4 separate regions of the Homo sapiens genome follow, and regions 2, 3 and 4 are each linked to region 1. The links are contacts of gene promoters, found by promoter capture Hi-C in blood cells and fetal thymus (Javierre and others, 2016). All regions are on one chromosome and are shown on one strand. Each heading gives the region's core, a stretch centred on a gene start or on the middle of the fragment in contact. The rest is flanking DNA. Distances are from core to core; before and after follow the strand shown.

Region 1 (3,238 bases), core at 320-2,819:
ATTTGAGCCCAGGAGTTCTAGGTTGCAGTCAGCTATGATGGTACCATTGCACTCCAGCCTGGGTGATAGAGCAAGACCCCATCTTTAAAATAATTATAATAATGACCATATCAAGTGCAGGTAAGAAGGTGGAGCACCTGGAATTCTCATATACTGCTGGTGGGAATACAAAATGGCACAGCCACTGTGGAAAATATTTGGCGTAATCTAGCACAGTTGAAGCTATCTATACTCTGAGACCCAGCAATTTCACCTCAGATAAGTACATGGACTTGGATAAATGTGTAAGAATATCATCAGTGGCATTGATCATGATGGCCACCCTAGGAACAACCCAAGTGTGCATCAAAAGACAAAACAAAAAATGACAAATGGTGATGTATTTAAATAATGAAGCAACAGAAAACCAAACACAGCATGTTCTCACTCATAAGTGGGAGTTGAACAGTGAGAACACATGGACACAGGGAGGGGAACATCACACGCTGGGGCCTGTCAGGGGTGGGGGCCAGGGGGAAGGAGAGCATTAAGACAAATACCTAATGCATGCAGGGCTTAAAACCTAGATGATGGGTTGATAGGTACAGCAAACCACCACGGCACATATATACCTATGTAACAAACCTGCAGGTTCTACACTGGTATCCCAGAACTTAAAGTAAAATAAATAATAATAATAATGTAGCAACACAACAATGGAAATGAAAAAAAGTATCTACACAGAAATGCATCAGTGAATCTTATACCCATAAATGTTGCATGAAAGAAGCAAGGCACTGGAGAATACACACAGTATGCATGGTTCAATTTATATAAGATTCACAGATGAGTAAAATGAAACTGAATTGTTTGGGGATCTCATAGGTGGTAAATTTCTAAGGAAAAGCCAAGAAGTAACCCCCATCTGAATCAGGACTGTGACTGCCTCTAATAGGGAGGAAGGGAATCATGGCTCAAAAAAAAACACATGGCAAACTTCTGGGCGAGCCAGCAAAGTTCTATTTTTTTTTTTTTTGTCTGATTTCTGTTTCTTGCCTTCAAGGCCACAAAGATGGGTGGGCATGAATCACACCACACTGCCCTGGGGTTTCGCTTCCCTGGGACTTTCTGTTGGTGGTGATGGATACAGCTTTGCTCAGAGAAAAGGCACCAGATGGAACTGTAATTCTACCCCACTGCTCTTCTATGTCAGTCACTGGCTCTGTGTCCCACCAGCTCTGTGATCCAAGCCTCGGTTTTCCCATCTGTTCAAGGGGCATGACGGCCCCCATCATGCCTAGCTCATAGAGTAGAATAATGAATGTTAAAGGGCTCTGGGAGCTAATGCCTGAATTCCAGAGATCAACGGGGACTCGAAGGACAGCCAGACCTCTGCAAGGCGGCAGGGAAAGTGAGGCTGAGCTAAATCCCACAGGGCTGGCCCCACACCGCCTTGCCCTTCCCTGCGCTACCCGGAAGAAGAGGTGGGTACAGCTGGCAGGCTGGCAGTTGAGTTCAATATACCATGTTTCACCAGCCAATGGGCTGGGGCGATCAGAAGCAGGTCACACAGCCTGTTTCCTGTTTTCAAACGGGGAACTTAGAAAGTGGCAGCCCCTCGGCTTGTCGCCGGAGCTGAGAACCAAGAGCTCGAAGGGGCCATATGACACTCCTCCCGGACCCCTGGACACACACAGCCCTGGAGACTGGAGGTCAGTATTTGATCCCAAGCTCAGCTGTCCTCTGCCTGCTGTGGCCTGAGTCCCCTTCTCCTGGGGCCCTGCCTGGCACCTGCTGGGGGCAGGGTGGGAGGGGGAAGAGTTAGTGACAGCCACTGTGTCTGGAGCTCTCCTTAGCACACTGAGGCAGAGGAAGGGACAGCTCCTGGACCTTCCATCACCTCCATTCCTTTTGAAATGCTAGGCGCTTGTACAACCCATCTTGGGCCTGGAGAATAAGTCACCACACCTGTGTTTCTCAAAAGAACAGTGTCAGGGAACCCCTGCCTCAGCACAGCCTTAGAGGACTCATGGAAAATGCAGAATCCAGGCCTGTTCAATGGCACCTTCCTATGTTAGCAGCCAGGAAACCTGCTCTTGGACAAGCCCCTGGGATCCCACCCCCACCCCACCAGGGGATTCTTACACACACTGGGTTGGGAGCCCCTGGCTTTGGCAAGGCTTCTCAGGTGAGCGTCCAGTTGTTGGAGGGTACCCACCCTTTCCCCAAGAGAGGCAGCCACACATCCAACATCCTGGGATCTCTGTCTCCCAGCGTGGGCCATGTGCTTTATTTCACCCCCTAGAGGCTCATCCCCCATGAAAAGTCCTCCGCAGGCCCTCAGAAAGATAGTGTGGCCTCTGTGTGCCCAGCAGAAGAAGGACTGGACTTGGCAGTCAGCTCTTGGAGAGGGGGTGGTTAGGACACCTGGGGACAGGAGGAGGAGAATGACTGTCTGTGCACACACGGCTGGAAGGCAGAGGAGGCTGGGAAGCTGCTCTGTCCCCTGGGCCAACTACAGGCCCCCAGGCCAACAGCAACAACACTTTTAGTATTTTGTTATAAAGTCAAGAAATCTTTGCTACAGAGGGTGAGGAGAGGGAAGGAAAGGGCCATGGAACCGTCTATGTGGCTATCCCCAGAGAGCTTTTAGAGTGACAGGATTGCTTTCCCATTTCACAGATGAGGAAACTGAGGCCTGGAGAGGGATGGGAAGCTACCCAAGGCCCCATGGATACACCAGTGCACAACTCTTTCCTTCCCCCTCCTCTTTAAATGGGTGACTCCCAATGAAACCTGTAAGAGACAACCATAAGGGAGCTGACTGTGGCTGCTGAATTTGATTTTATTCTAAGGCCTGGTTTTATAATCAGCTTTCTCAGTCTTTACTGGAGTGTCAAGCCGAGGCATCATTTCTAGGGTCTTACAGGGTCTCTGGGCCAATAGTGCCCTGCTTCTGACCTGGAGCCAGCTGCCTGGTCATGAAAGCAGATCTGCAAAGGCTGGGGCCCCTGAGGCCAAGGCCACTCGCCATCACCCATTTTACAGAAGTGCTGAGCATAGGAGTGCCCTGGGCCCCCAAGAATCCCAGCCACCAAGAATCACGTAAACCATCCACTGTCTCACTTAGGCACCAGTCAGAATGTAGGGAACCCACCCCTAGTCATCCATCATCTTATCAACAGGACGGGGCTTGTAGCCACATTTATCAGGTAGGGAAACTGAAGCCTAGAGATATTAAAGCACTTGCTTAAGGACA
Region 2 (3,238 bases), core at 266-2,765, 120 kb after region 1:
ACCCTTGCTGTTAGAGCCACCCTAACTGTGCTACATGGAGCCACAGACAAGTTGACCCTCCCAGGCTTGGTCCAAAGTGCATACTCTTAAGCAAGTCACAAAGTGATCAAGTCACTAATCTTTGGACTTTTTTTTTTTTTTTACAGCAGTAGAAACAAAGCCTTCTCCTTTCCTTTAATGCATTTTTGAGAGGAGGAAGCAGAAGGCAGGAGAGGTCATAATAGATACCTCATAGCTAAGCTGGAGGCACCCCCAGGCTCAGGGTTCCCAGCGCAGCATTGTGTCCAACCCCTGATGACTGAGCCATGTCTGTGTTTCTCCTGGGATGAAGCTGCTGCTGTTGGCTTCTCAGGGGAGAAGCCATGGGCCCCCCCTCCATGGGACTGCTCATCCTCTTCATTCCCTAAGCAAAGGGAGTGAGCCAGCAGCAAGCACCCACAGCATCCCTGGGAGCACTGACCCAGGCCCAAAAGTCAACAAACCAAACAGCTCAGAAAGCACAGAGAGGTCAGGAAAGTTGCCCTAGGTCACACTGCTAGTGAGAAGTAGAGCCAGGGCTCAAAACCAGGCATTCAGGCTCAGGGCCTGCACCAGTGACCCACACCAGCGTTTTTCTAATACTCTGATTATGACCTATAGTAAGAATTATATTTTACAATATGCCTCTGCTGTAGATAGATAGATAGATAGATAGATAGATAGATAGATAGATGGGTTTGGGTATAGGTGTGTGTAAAGTGTGTGTATACATTTTTTTTAACTAGAACAAAAAATTACACAAAACAATATTTACTCTTACTATATATAATGTTTTCTCATATTTTTACTCTATTTCATTTTGGTCACTAAATTGATGTCATGAACCATGAATGGGGCTGAGACATACAGTTGAAAAAAAAAAAAAAACTCGCCTAAACTGATTTAAGATGGCTCTAAAATCACACTGAGTGATCTGAATTTGAATCTTGCTGAAGCAAGATTCCACTTCCAAGTTAAGTGACCTTGGGCAATATGGTTGACTTCTTTAAAGCCTCAGTTTCCCTATGGGTAAGATGGGCATAATAATAACAGCGGCCTCATAACAGTGCTCTGAGAATCCAGCACTATGAACAGTGCTTGGCCCAGAGCCTGGCACACAGCAGACACGCAGCAAGCAGCAGCTACGCTGTTACCACCTCCTCCTCGGGCTGCAGCTCCCAGACTCAGCACGGGGCTATGCACACAGTGGGCAGCTCGCGGGCACACTGAGCCTGCAGCCACTGAGAAAGCAGGCACGTGCCCAGGACCAGCTGAGGCAGTGGGTGCCTTTGGACTTTCCAGGGCAGGGAGGAAGCAGAGAAAGTCCCCAGTGCCCGCTGAAAAGGCAACTTTGTTCCTGGATTATAGTAGTTCTCTTCAATCATCTTTTTGCCTTTGAAGGGGGAAAGAAGGGTAAAACAACAAAGTCAGGGTCAAAAACTGTCCTGGAACAAGGCTCCCTCTGGAAACCAGGCATGGAATGGGCATGGCACCACACACCAGCACCCCCAAACCCACTCACTGGAGCCACCGCAAGCCGAGGCCTCTGAGTGAGGGGCCCACCAGCCCACGCAGCCTTCTGAAGTTAGAAAAACATCCTCCGGCCTGAGCCCATTAGGGAGGCTGTGGCCTGAGGGAAGACAGCCCCATCCTGCTAACAGGGTCCTTTTATGCTCTGCCTCTCCCCTCCTCAGGACCCCAGCTCTATGCTCAAGGCCAGAAGGCTTGGGCAGCCCAGCAGGCCAGCCAATCCGCTCCAGGGTGACACTATTTCTTGTGACTGAGAGGTTCTCCTCCCTACCTCTTCCAACCTGACCAGAAAGCTGGAGTCCACAGACACCAGTAACACTTCATGGAAGACTTGCGGCAAGGAGACAAGGCCTCATGACGGGATGCAACATACAGTGGTACCACCCAGCCCAGCAGGCACTGCCCACTCCCTGCTGCTGCACCACATAGTTCTGCTCTAACACCTCAGAGACTGGAATGTGGTTCCAAGTCAGACACCGAGAAGGAGGCTGAACACTTTCTCTGTGCACCAACCCTGCATGCCTCTTGCCCTTTGCACATCCCGTGCCTTCTGCCTGGAATATTTTTAATAAACCTTTCCCCACCTAGCTATTTCCTATTTATTCTTTGGGTCTTAACGACTTACGCATCACTCCCTAATCTGAAGTAGAATCCTCCGTTATTCTCCTTCCCCATCCTTTTCCTTCACTGCACTTAGCACACTGGTACCACACTGAGCACACATCCAGGTGATCACTAGCAAACAACACTGGCAAGCTGCAAAAGAAGGGGTGACATCTCCTTTATTCTTTAACTTGCTGAAATGAACCCATTTCTACCCTTAAAACAACCCAATGAGGTAGGAACCATTACTCTACCCATTCCACAGATGTGAAAACTGAGAATCAGAGATGAGCCATCACTTGGCCCAAGGCCACCGAGCTGGGGAGAAGTGCAGCTGGGACTCAGACCCAGGAAGTCTGATTCTGCAAGTTCTAAGCACACCTCTGGCACCTTCTATGGGCACATGCTGGTCTTCAGCATAAAGTCTCCCAGCCCACATCTTTGTTTTGTTGTTTGTTTGTTTGTTTGTTTGTTTGAGACAGAGTTTCACTCTTGTCACCCAGGCTGGAGTGCAATGGCACGATCTTGGCTCACTGCAACCTCCATCTCCCGGGTTCAAGGAATTCTCCTGCTTCAGCCTCCCAAGTAGCTGGGATTACAGGTGCCTGCCACCATGCCCGGCTATTTTTTTTTTCTTTCTTTTCTTTCTTTTTTTTTTTTTTTTTGTATTTTTAGCAGAGACGGGGTTTCGTCATGTTGGCCAGGCTGGTCTCAAACTCCTGACCTCAGGTGATCCACCAACCTCGGCCTCCACCAACCTCGGCCTCCCATCCCAGCCCACATCTTTACTTACCCTTCCTGTGCCTCCCACATTGCTCTCCCACCAGACTGAAATACACTGTGCACAGCTTCCTGGCAATGAGCCTTTGCTTGGCCTGCACTCTCTGCCTTGGATGCAGCCTGCATCCAGCTCTCCCTGGCTGGGCTAGTGACTCTAATTTGCTGGGCCTGCCTCCTCATCTATGCGATAGCGGAATAATACCTAAGGCAGTTGTGAGGATTCTACAAGAGAATGCATGGAAAGTATTAGGCACAATGTTGAGTCCATATGATACTCACTCGTGTGTCCTTTTATCACTAACATACT
Region 3 (3,238 bases), core at 443-2,942, 120 kb before region 1:
AATGCAGGTCTCTCGTCCCTACTCTGCCACTTTTTCTGTCACAGCACACCACCTCCCAAAGCTTCCCCTAGACCTGTCACCCTTACCCTTCAGCTAAGTAGCCTTTAATAGATATTCTGTCGTTAAAACTAGGTAGGGCAGGGACACATTTCATATTCCCTCTGATACAATCCTAGGCACCTAGTAAGTGTCCGATAAATACTTCTTGGTTGGCAGTTACTCAGCAAAAGTCTAATACTTTATCCTCCACTCACATCTCAGTCTACAATCATCCAAGCAGATGCAAAATTATCTGGCCAGATAATTTTCAAGATCCAGCTATAGAGGGTAGTGAATCCTGAATCTATGAAGATGCCATGTTCAAACAAGCAGGAATTTGGGTGACAACACAGTTCTATAAGATTAATGGAATCTTAATCTTCCATACTATCTCTCCCCCTTGTTCTCAAAATCTGTGAAAAAAAATAATAAAGGAATCCTAGGGATAGGAAGAATCTGGCCATTTATCTACAGCATTTGGCAAACAGAAATTTTTAAAAATCCTAAATTATTCTAAGGAGAAAATCCTTAGCAACAGTAACAACATATTTAGTTGATTTTTGTTGCTGTTTATCCTAGTTTTCAACGTGTTTTCCTAGTCTTATAAAACATTCTTCTGTGGATGGAGTCAAACTCCTTTATAAAGCTGACAGTGAGGGATGGGACACATTTAGCCTCTCTATGTATGATAACACTGCTCTCCTTCCCCACTCTCTCCCTCTCCGCCACATACATATATACACACACACAGACACACACATATTTATTTGGAGGTGAGGAACATGACATATTTTCTACTTGTAATCATGAATCATGAATCACGAACCGTGTTATAAATAAGATAATTCAATTACATTGTCATCTTGATTGTAGATAAGGAATAAAAGATAACCAAAACCTTTAAATAGCCAACAGGAAAATATTAAAGAAAACTTAAGGCTGAAAATTAAATAACCAGCAGGCACATAAGCCCCTGTGCCATGCAGCCCAGCCCCAACTATGTGCCTCTTGACAAACCAGGCTGTGCTGAAGCACAGAACAGTAGGGGGCTACCCAGAGGGAGCCAGGACAGACAGGTGCAGGGGAAACCTTCCTGCTGCCTCATGACATGCAGAAGCAGGGAAGGACGCAGCCTCCCCAGGAACCACCAGAGCTGGCCCTGGCATCCCTTAATGAGCACTCCCTCCCCAAGTAACATTAAAAAGACGTCAAGCTCCACCTGAAGAAGACGTTGCCAGAAATCATTTATGGATGAGGCCCTCCCATTTAACAGTCTCCACACCTGACTTTTGAAACCAGGTGTCCATCCAAACAGGTCTTCTTCAAGTTCTCTACCATGACAGCCTGGGTAGCAGAGCTTCCTCAATTTGTATTTTGTTTTAATTTCTACAGGAAAGGAACTGTCTTCTCTCTCCTTTTTTTTTTTTTTTTCCAACTGTTAAATCCAGTCTTACCTAGATCGTCAGCCCTTAGTATCTGCAGGGGTTTGGTTCCAGGATCCCTGCAGATACCAACATCTGAAGATGCTCAATTCCCTGATACAAAATGGTACAGAATTTGCATATAACTGACACACATCCTCCTGTATATTTTAATTAAATAATCTCTAGATTACTTATAATACCTAATAAATGTAAATGCTACATAAAGAGTTCTTGTATTGTTCAGAGAATAATGACAAGAAAAAAGTCTGTACATGTTCAATACGGATGTAACCATCCTTTTTTTAAAAAAAATCGTATTTTCCATTTGCAGTTGGTTGAATCCATGGATGAGAAACCTGCAGATACCGAGGGCTGGCTTCATTTAGATTCCTAATCATTCCTCCAGGTAGTCAATTTTTTAAAATCACATTGACAAGCTCATTCACCCATTTCTTCATTCAACACATATTTATTACAGGGTGATTGGACTTCTAGGCTGTCAGAGCTAGAAAAGGCCTTATGCATCTTTTACCCCACACCCTTCATTTTACCCAAGGGAGATGGAGGCAGGGCTAGCCCTAAACCCAGAGTCTCTCAGCCTCACCCCTGATCTAATCATCATCTCACCACCCCAACCAAGCACTTAGCAGTATAAAACCTTGTGCAAAATATATGTACTTTTTCACTTCAAAAATGAAAATATTACAAGATGAGTTTTTGTACCTTACTGTAATTTATAAAGCTAGTAAATATTAGCAAAATGGAATGATAAAACCAAAGAGTAAAAGTGCCTTTAAAAAAGTAATTGCAGGGTTTGTAAAGATTCTTTCCACTTTTTGTCACATTAAATATTTTATAAAGTCATATGACATATACATATGATGACTTTTCTGCCTTTCTGCACAGTTAGAAAGTCATTCAGGAAAGACAATGATACCACAAAACAACACTCAGAGAATGCACATTCCACAGCACTGACATGTATCATCTATGGTCCTGGTCTACAACATCCGCTGTGGTCTAAACACACACTATGGCTGTTATTAAACAAAACATCCCATTTCTACTTACTTTAATCAGAAGGAGGATGAAGCTGCTGCTAACATTTCGATAACATATCTGATTCTATCAAGTGAAACTACACTGAATTTAATGGGAGTACTGGCTGACAGATCAAACTTAAGTTCTAGACAGTCTTGTCTAAAATAATAGAGGTTTAAATATCCATCTCTCCCAGGAAATTGTAATAATTCTATATGCCAAATTCATTTTCTTATGGACTGTATGTTTGTAAAGGACTATTATCACTCCAATTCTTTCATCAATTTACTTTGCCCCATTCCATAAAATATTAATAGTTAAAAGCCTTAAAAAACCTGTTAGCTGACAGTAACTACTATGAATGAAGAGCTTCAACTGCTAAATACCCTAATCCTCCAGGAAAATCACTTCAAAAATGGACATTTGGGGACAGAATCACTCATTTATCTCAAAACCAGAACAAATAGAAAACAACACCATTAAGGGAATTTAAGTATTTTTCTGACCACTATTGCAGAAACACAGAAAAACTGAGCAGATTGTAGACATGCAAGATCAGCAGTATATAGAAAGGATTAACAAATCAAACTCAGTACATCTCTAATAACTGGATTGAGAGTAGACTCTTAATAAAACCAAATTATTTCTTCCTCAAGGCAACCGTTAGCTACAAAAGAAAAATGATTTCATATCCTTGGTCCATAAAGAAGACACATTTATTTACATTCTCAATG
Region 4 (3,238 bases), core at 377-2,876, 100 kb before region 1:
AAATACAAAAATTAGCCAGGCATGATGGAGTGCACCTGAAGTCCCAGCTACTTGGGAGGCTGAGATAGGAGAATCGCTTGAACCCGGGAGGTGGAGGTTCCAGTGAGCCGAGATCACGTCACTGCATTCCAGCCTGGGCGACACAGCGAGACTCCTTCTCAAAAAAATAAACGAGTGACAGCAGTAACTTGCTGTTATCAAAGAAAAAGAAAATTTAGCTAATATAGATTTTTATCAGGAAATCTAAAGAATATTATATCAATGCTACAAGGTTTGTTTTTGTCAAAGTATTCTGCAAATAAAATGGCCGCCACTTTATTCTTCTTCCTACTTTAAAAATGTTAACATCCCATATTAACTTCCTAATTCTTATCATATGGCTACAGAACTGGCAGGCTACTCTCAATTTAGCCCAGTCTACAATCCTCAGAGCCTAAAGATTCTTGGTTCAATTTCCAGAGCTTAAAGATCCTTGCAATGTTAAGGCTGGGCGTGGTGGCTCATGCCCGTAATCCCAAGCACTTTGGGAGGCCAAGGCGGGTAGATCATTTGAGGTGAGACGTTCGAGACCAGCCTGGCCAACGTGGTGAAACCCCCGTCTCTACTGAAAATACAAAAAAGAAAGTTAGCCAGAAGTGGTGGTTCACACCTGTAATCCCAGCTACTCAGGAGGCTGAGTCAAGAGAATCGCTTGAACCTGGGAGGCAGAGGTTGCAATGAGCCCAGATTGTGCCGCTGCATTCCAGCCTGGGGGACAGAGTGAGACTCTGTCTCAAAAAAAAAAAAAAAAAAAAAAAAAATCTTAAGTTGTTCCACTTTGGAAAAAATTGCATATATGAGGGCAGCAGTGCTGCTACTGAAAATCGTTTTTTTAAAGACAGTAGTTTTATGACTGCCTTTACCTACTAAAAGAAATACAGCACATAACAGCCAATGGCTTTACTGCAAGTTATGTTGTTTGAGACATGCACAAAGATTTCCCAGATACCCTCTGTATATCTATTCCATTGTACCAATATCATTCACCTTTCTGGACACAGAAACATGAGACAACATTCAAAAGCTTAAAAGGAGTATGTCATAAAAAGCAAATCTCCCTTTCAATCCTGACCCACAGTCATCCAGTTTCTCTACTCAGAGGCAGATGGCAGTTTCTTTCACACACACTCACACGCACACACACACACACACCGGTATGTGTCCCTGCCTCATGGCACTATCTATACCTATTGCATTCTTTTTAAACTTACCAGAATAAGGTTGAGTCTAAGTAACAAGAATTGTAATGACCCTGGATGCCTTTCTTCTTCCCAATCATTATCTCCAAGCCTTCTTTTTCCATTTTTGGTGGAGTATTTTCTTCTACTACTTCACTTAAGTAGCCTCCAAATGCTGAAAAGATTTTTTTAAAAAAAGTAAATGAAAAGAATTCTTTTAAACTATTACAATATGTATTCCCATAAATATTTTTTCATTTTAAAATGTTTTTGTATTTTGATGCAAAATTTTTTCTTTAAGTGGAAAGTAGGCTTTGGTTAACTGCTATTTGACTTGGCTTATAAAAATTGCTATTGTTCATTTTCAACTTCATTTCCTCCAAGATTTAAAAACACACTTTAGAGTATTATGTGTAAAAAGCATCTGTCAAGTAAAATATGTTTCCCAAATATTTCACTATTTATCTGAAGTTGCTTCACTTTCAAGTTTGAAAAGAAAATGAAAATTCCAAAGTACTATTTCAACATAATAAGAGTGTTTTTCATAAAGATGGCTTTCCTGTTTGCACCTGCTGAAGCCCCAAGATGCTTTTCCACTATTATGTAGAAGTGGAAAGGAACAGCACCAGGAAACTGCCACCAATTACACATGATGAGGAGAGCTGTCCTCCAGCAATCAGTTGAAATCTACTTCTTACACTAAAATGCTGATTTCTTTGTAAGATACACTCACTGCTGTAAACAAGACACTGTGAGGGAAGTCAGTAAAAAAAAAAAAGAAGGTTACATTTCAATTTCTACCACTAGTATTGCTGAAAACTAAATGTCTGTCATCAACAGGAAGAGAAAAACAAACCACACTATTATTCACTTTATAAGTCCCAAACGCACGTCCTAATACTTTTTTAAGATGTCCCCTCTTAAAACAACTTTCTTATACACCATGCAACATTTTTACTGATTTAAAGCTTAATGAGCGTTGGCAAGAAATATATTAAAACACTGTCACCATCACCTAATATAACATGATATGAGATTAGAATTAGAGTCATTCCAGGTTGTTAAGTAAACAAAAAGCATCCAAATACCTAAAGAGTTACAGCGCTCAATCTGATTGGAAACCGGCTGCAATGATGCAAACCTAGAGTCAGGCCTGCAGCTCTTCAGTTTCACAAACAGCGCCTTCTTCAGGGCACAGGTGAAATACCGAGTGCCTCTGAAGGTTCCATCCGTACAGCCTGCACACTCATCTTCCTGAAAAAGAAATGCTTCAATATGCATTATACCGTGCCTTACAGAGATAGTATACAAAGAACTAAGGTTTCTAAGACCTGTTTCTAGTATACCCTTTCTCACCACTCCCTCTTCGCACCTGTACTGAGAACCTCATCAAGAAAAAGGAGTTGAGTAATCAGTGCTTCAGCCCACAGCTACTGATTTAAGAAGTGACTTCCTTAATCCAGCATGAAGTCCTTCTTGTATTTCCTTTCAGAATATATGCTTCAACCTCCCCTGGTTAAACGGGCTTTCCCGCACCATTTCTACAAGCATTAAAACAGGCAGGGAAGGAGAAGGCTATTTATTTTAACCCTCATTCTTGCCTCCCCACCATGCCCCATAAGATAGTATTCACTAGCATGGAAACAAACAAGAAAAAAAAAAAAAGAAATATATTTAAATTGGCCAGGTGTGGTGGCTCATGCCCATAATCCTAGCACTTTAGGAGGCCAAGGCGGGCAGATCACTTGAGTCCAGGAGTTTGAGACCAGCCTGGGCAACATGGCAAAACCCTGTCTCTACTAAAAATACAAAAAATTACCAAGCATGATGGTACATGTCTGTAATTCCAGCTACTCAGGTGACTGAGGCAGGAGAATAGCTTGAGCCCAGGAGGTCGAGGCTGCAGTGAGCCCTGACCGTGCTACTGCACTCCAGTCTGGGTGACAGAGTGAGACCCCATCTCTAAATAAATCCTAAACATACTCAACTTCTCCTTTCCTGATTACAAAATATCAAATGAT

Evidence for each region. Contacts are between HindIII fragments. The CHiCAGO score rates a contact against its expected background, and 5 or more counts as called.
Region 2: a contact is called between a fragment that was not itself captured here and the fragment with the promoter of SNX20 in region 1, in 3 of 17 cell types (total CD8 T cells, non-activated CD4 T cells and naive B cells). The highest score is 6.0, in total CD8 T cells.
Region 3: a contact is called between a fragment that was not itself captured here and the fragment with the promoter of SNX20 in region 1, in 6 of 17 cell types (neutrophils, activated CD4 T cells, non-activated CD4 T cells and 3 more). The highest score is 12.2, in neutrophils.
Region 4: a fragment that was not itself captured here is called in contact with the fragment with the promoter of SNX20 in region 1 in 5 of 17 cell types (activated CD4 T cells, non-activated CD4 T cells, total CD4 T cells and 2 more); the score reaches 8.6 in activated CD4 T cells.

What each region holds. Positions count from the first base shown.
Region 1 is chr16:50,679,643-50,682,880 of GRCh38, reverse strand. It overlaps SNX20 (sorting nexin 20), which reads left to right and starts at 1,569. Exons shown (of 4, transcript NM_182854.4): 1 at 1,569-1,691. The HindIII fragment of the contact is 15,976 bases long and covers 1-3,238 here.
Region 2 is chr16:50,558,298-50,561,535 of GRCh38, reverse strand. The region is part of intron 3 of NKD1 (NKD inhibitor of Wnt signaling pathway 1); the gene reads right to left. Among named protein-coding and RNA genes, the nearest start is that of NKD1, 12 kb to the right of the region's middle. The HindIII fragment of the contact is 5,014 bases long and covers 1-3,238 here.
Region 3 is chr16:50,796,847-50,800,084 of GRCh38, reverse strand. It overlaps CYLD (CYLD lysine 63 deubiquitinase), which reads right to left. Exons shown (of 19, transcript NM_001378743.1): 19 at 1-3,238. The region is part of intron 2 of CYLD-AS2 (CYLD antisense RNA 2); the gene reads left to right. Among named protein-coding and RNA genes, the nearest start is that of CYLD-AS2, 4.9 kb to the left of the region's middle. The HindIII fragment of the contact is 3,258 bases long and covers 64-3,238 here.
Region 4 is chr16:50,780,479-50,783,716 of GRCh38, reverse strand. It overlaps CYLD (CYLD lysine 63 deubiquitinase), which reads right to left. Exons shown (of 19, transcript NM_001378743.1): 10 at 2,306-2,471; 11 at 1,251-1,392. Among named protein-coding and RNA genes, the nearest start is that of CYLD-AS2, 21 kb to the left of the region's middle. The HindIII fragment of the contact is 1,122 bases long and covers 1,066-2,187 here.